Linked DNA regions of Homo sapiens: region 2 is linked to region 1. Evidence: promoter capture Hi-C in human tissues and cell types (Jung and others, 2019). All regions are on one chromosome and are shown on one strand. Each heading gives the region's core, a stretch centred on a gene start or on the middle of the fragment in contact. The rest is flanking DNA. Distances are from core to core; before and after follow the strand shown.

Region 1 (2,850 bases), core at 98-2,597:
CCTCCAGGAGTTCGAGGCCAGCCAGGCCAAGATGGTGAGACCCCCATCTCTACTAAAAACACAAAAATTAGCCAGGCACGGTGGCGGGTGCCTGTAATCCCAGCTACTCGGGAGGCTGAGGCAGGAGAATCGCTTGAACCAGGGAGACGGACGTTGCAGTGAGCCGAGAATGTGCCACTGCACTCTAGCCTGGGCAACAGAGCAAGACTCCGTCTCAAAAAAAGAAAAAAAAAAGGGAAGAAATTGTAGGACCTGAGCCAGAAAAAACTCATTTGGTCGTCTCTGAAAGCCTTTAGTCTTTACAAGAATTGCCAGAATCAACTGATGGTGTATTCTCTTGTCACTGCAGCCCAATTGAGACCACTGTATTTAGTTGTCTGTCCCCTTAGATCCACAATATTTTAGGGACTCCTGGCACCATTCCATAGTAGGAAGAAAAAGCTAACATAATTCAAGTTACCAAAACTGGGGTCTGGGGAGAGAAACTGATAGGAACTTCATCTACACTTTCTCATAAAAACTGATACTGATAACATAGCAAACAAAAAGTACAGTAAAAACAAAAAGATGACACAATACGCTTCTCATTTATTTTATATTTATACAAACAGCGCTTCCCTGAAAAATCAGGGTATCGTTCAAGATTTTATCTTTATTCACAGAAGTTTTAAAATTTTTAACTTTTATATGCACAAGACAGTTCTGATTTGTTGAATTAAGTGACCGCGGGTGTGCTAATGCTTCTAAAAAACAGCATTAGCCTTCTCCCATCAAAAGTCCGGAAGCTGCCCTTCAGTCGTCAAAGTGTTTGCCTTAATTTGCAATCGTTATGACTTGAGCCAAATGCTTATACCTCATTTGTGTCGTATATGTGAAGATACAATTGCAAATCGTTCACGACCTTGAGTCAAGACCTTGAGTTTCCTGAGGTCAGGAGACCGTTAGGGAATGTGAGTGTCCCAGACGGGCGCTGAGCCCAGCTCGGAGACCCACCCCGCCCGTAGCAGCGGCGCGGGCCCCAGAGAGCCCCGCACTCGGCCGCGCCTCAGTTACGCTGACTCGGCTGTGCCCGCAGTGTCGCGCTGTCGCGTAGCCAGGTGTCGCCGGGCTGGCGCGGTTATTTATGACTGCGTGGTTGGGCTGGGGGTTCGGGGCCGGGGAGCAGCCGGGATCCGCCGCCTCTTCCATGATCTTCCCGGGCCGAACCACGGGACCGCTACGCTGAAGGTGGCGTCGCGGGTCCCCGGGGCCGCGCGAGTGTAGGGGTCGCTCTCGGCCGGCCGCGAAGCTCGCGGCACCGACTTCTCGCGAGATTTCGGCGACCCCCCCCCCCGCCCCCGCCCCTCCGTTCTCTGCCCCCTCCCAGCTCTGGTGTGGGCGGCCTCCGCTATGGCTGCGCTGCGAAGGCTCTTGTGGCCGCCACCCCGGGTGTCTCCTCCACTCTGCGCTCACCAGCCCCTCCTTGGGCCGTGGGGGCGGCCTGCGGTGACCACCCTGGGCCTTCCTGGCCGGCCCTTCTCCTCCCGAGAGGATGAGGAGAGGGCTGTGGCGGAGGCGGCATGGAGGCGGCGGCGGCGCTGGGGGGAGCTGAGCGTGGCGGCGGCGGCCGGCGGGGGGCTGGTCGGCCTGGTATGCTACCAGCTGTACGGGGACCCCAGGGCCGGCTCGCCGGCGACCGGGCGACCCTCAAAGAGCGCGGCCACGGAGCCCGAGGACCCGCCCCGCGGCCGGGGGATGCTGCCCATCCCAGTGGCGGCTGCCAAGGAGACGGTGAGTGCGCGAGCGCGCGTCACACCTGCGCGGGGGATGTGACCTTCGTGCCGGGTACGCAGGACCCTGGAGGCTGTGGGGACGGTGCAAGCGCTGTGGCCGCGGGTGAGGAACTTCCCGTGAGCGAGGCTGACACCTAGGCCGGACAGCCTAGGATCCGGTCACCCACGTATTGGGAAGACCAGTGATGCTGTCCCTGATGCATCAGGACCTTAAAGGTGGCTGCAGCTACCAAGTATCAATCCAAACCCAAAACCAACACCCCTCCCCCTCTTACAAAAAAAGATTCAGAAATGAAGGCCATGACAGGCAGAAAGTGGACCGCTGTAGGTGTGGGAAAAAGGAACTCCTAGATTGCGCGGGGCGACAGCTAATGACCCAGGAGGTCTGTTGCATTAGAATGAGTTTCGAAGCAGCGGTCTGAGATCTCAAAAGCCACTACTTTAGCATATGAGAATTTATTAGTCCCAAGAAAGGAAATGCTAAACCTGCATGCTAACGCCCTTATCATACCCAGGGAATGTTGATGTTACCAGGTCTGAAAAGAAATAAAAAATTGTTCAAAAAGAGACATAAGTATTTCTCTCTTTTTCCTTCCCCCACTAAAGCCAGAATCCCGTTAGTAGGTAACGATAAAACACAAAATGGATAGGATAGCAAATGTAGGAGGCTGTGAATGACACAAACTCCTACAGAAGAAAGTCACGTGAAAATGTTCAACTGTCATTATGTAGTTAATAATACAAGGTAAAGATGTGTGAAAGGCAACAGTGAGTAAAGGAGCGTGATTTTTTTTGTCGCATCAGTATATTTAATAGTCATGTAAATGACTAGGAAAATTAAGGAGATTTTCCTTGCAAGGCTCGAAGAATGTGAACGGCGTAGATGAAAATAATTTAGAAAACAGAGAGCTATGCTGTTTCTAATGCAATTTTTATAGGCTTTGTTCTTAATACGCAGTGGTGATCTGATGTAAGTGCATCATTTCCTTTGGTGGAGGTTGTCAATGCAATTAGGTTACGGAATCTGCTTTATGGACTATCTAGCAGCAGATCACAAGCACATAACATAAAGTCCTTT
Region 2 (2,850 bases), core at 147-2,646, 56 kb before region 1:
ATCAATAGGACACAAGAATCAGCTAAACTTGCAGGCATAGCAGCCATGGCAACATCCCTAGCAAATCCTCCACACAGATAGTAACTAGCCACTTCAAAATCACTGGGAGTGGAGCCAAGAGAGGGAACACTGAGACAAGGACTTTGTAAATCTTAAGGATAAACTCCTCCCCACACAAGAAAAACAGACAGCACCTAAAGCATTTTCTTTGATTTTTTTCCTGATCTCTCTAAATTTAAGAAACCTGGCCTTAAAGTCTGAGAGATCAAGCCCAGCCTCCCATAGGGAAGGACAAATTGTCCCAAAGTCCTTAACATGCAGGTCTATTAAACCTCTGATCTGCCTGGAGAGACCCTAAACCTTATGACTGCTTTGAATGAAGGACAATATTCAAGAATATAGGAAATTTCAGATACAGGATCAAAGATAACATTAATTCTAGGAAGCTTGAATACAAGGACAGAAATTCTTTTGACTATTGAAGGATGTGGAGAAAAAGTGGCTGAAGTTGCTGGGTTATAATTGCTGGGTAGAGAATTTTTCCTGGGGTGGTATCTCCTTTCCATGAATGTGTAATTGCAAGGAATTCATTGCAATTTTAGGAAAGGTAAGAACCTTCTTCTCAAAAAGTTAAAGAGTAGGAGCCTAACAATTGGCCTTCCAAAAGGGAATCTCTAGAGCAGCCCAGTATCACCACAGTTGTAAATATGAAATAGTAGCTTTTTGTAGGTTGTAGGTACTATTTCATATTTACAACTGTGGTGATACTAGGCTGCTCTAGAGATTCCCTTTTGGAAGGCCAATTGTTACAGGCAACCTACAAAATGGGAGAAAATTTTCACAACCTACTCATCTGACAAAGGGCTAATATCCAGAATCTACAATGAACTCAAACAAATTTACAAGAAAAAAAACAAACAACCCCATCAAAAAGTGGGCGAAGGACATGAACAGACACTGCTCAAAAGAAGACATTTATGCAGCCAAAAAACACATGAAAAAATGCTCATCATCACTGGCCATCAGAGAAATGCAAATCAAAACCACAGTGAGATACCATCTCACACCAGTTAGAATGGCAATCATTAAAAAGTCAGGAAACAACAGGTTCTGGAGAGGATGTGGAGAAATAGGAACACTTTTACACTGTTGGTGGGACTGTAAACTAGTTCAACCATTGTGAAGTCAGTGTGGCGATTCCTCAGGGATCTAGAACTAGAAATACCATTTGACCCAGCCATCCCATTACTGGGTATATACCCAAAGGACTATAAATCATGCTGCTATAAAGACACATGCACACGTATGTTTCTTGCGGCATTATTCACAATAGCAAAGACTTGGAACCAACCCAAATGTCCAACAATGATAGACTGGATTAAGAAAATATGGCACATATACACCATGGAATACTATGCAGCCATAAAAAAGGATGAGTTCATGTCCTTTGTAGGGACATGGATGAAATTGGAAACCATCATTCTCAGTAAACTATAGCAAGAACAAAAAACCAAACACCGCATATTCTCACTCATAGGTGGGAATTGAACAATGAGATCACATGGACACAGGAAGGGGAACGTCACACTCTGGGGACTGTTGTGGGGTGGGGGGAGGGGGGAGGGATAGCATTGGGAGATATACCTAATGCTAGATGACGAGTTAGTGGGTGCAGCACACCAGCATGGCACATATATACGTATGTAACTAACCTGCACAATGTGCACATGTACCCTAAAACTTAAAGTATAATAATAAAAAAAAAGGTACCAAGTTCCATTAGAAGTTCACCAAACTATATAATAGGGATGGATGTTGAAGAATTATACCTTTATTGTACTACTACAGGAATAAACTCTCCAACACTGCATTATAATCTAACAAGGTAAAGTTTAAACAGGAGCCTTGCCATAATTCAAGGAGAAATTTCATCCTTTTCATAGATGTCATATTGATCAGCAGTCAGAAATAATCATAACTGAACTCTGTCTTTCCTCGTTAGTTTGATGACTAAAAATGCTAGAACAATTAACAAGAAAAAAATTCAAGGGCCCTTCACCAAACAACATTTGTGAGAGTAGCATTATTTGGAGCAAACAAACTATGCACTGAATGAGACAAAAATTTTATCCTTGAGAGCCACATCACCAAACAGGAGGCAAAGAAACAAGTGTCATGTGTGGATAGTGACACATCTGGGTGTTATGCTGTAGTCTCATCATTCAATTGCACAGCATCCTGAACAACAAAATGCCTTAAAGCTTGCACAAGCAACTTTCTGACCTCTCTGCCCTTGATGTGGAGCCATCGGCATGTCCCAAATCAAATGACAAAGCTGTCAAGTCTGCCAAATAGTGTTCTCATTTTGAAAGACAATTGCCAGCCACTTACTGTGCCATAGTTAAAACAGCAGTTCATAAACAGAACATCAAATTCTTTTGCTACCCCCATTAATTGCCTTATACCTGAAACCTCATTACTCTCAAGGAGGAATGAGCAAATGAGATTTCCATTCTTAAATGGAAACAGTACAGTCAATAGAGAGTCATATTGATCTCCAAAGAGATATGAAGCCATCACAGATTGTGCTGCCCTGCTGGAGACCAGCCCTTGACAAGGGCACCCATACTGATTCCAAAGGTACATTGCTTCTAAGAAATACTGTCCTTGACCTCTGCACTTTTTGCTCTAATACGTCTCCAAGACCGTTATTTCTTTTTTTTTTTTTTTTTTTTTTTTTTTTTTTTTTTTTTGAGACGGAGTCTCGCTCTGTCGCCCAGGCTGGAGTGCAGTGGCATGATCTAGGCTCACTGCAAGCTCCCCCTCCTGGGTTCATGCCATTCTCCTGCC

What was found. Contacts are between HindIII fragments. The study calls those that stand out against the background at their distance.
Region 2: a contact is called between a fragment that was not itself captured here and the fragment with the promoter of MICU3 in region 1, in 1 of the 25 tissues and cell types used here (dorsolateral prefrontal cortex).

The regions. Positions count from the first base shown.
Region 1 is chr8:17,025,891-17,028,740 of GRCh38, forward strand. It overlaps MICU3 (mitochondrial calcium uptake family member 3), which reads left to right and starts at 1,348. Exons shown (of 15, transcript NM_181723.3): 1 at 1,348-1,770. The coding sequence starts at 1,390. RefSeq lists a silencer at 1,326-1,735 and an enhancer at 1,886-1,975. The HindIII fragment of the contact is 10,669 bases long and covers 1-2,850 here.
Region 2 is chr8:16,970,216-16,973,065 of GRCh38, forward strand. No RefSeq gene overlaps it. Among named protein-coding and RNA genes, the nearest start is that of FGF20, 31 kb to the right of the region's middle. The HindIII fragment of the contact is 5,468 bases long and covers 1-2,850 here.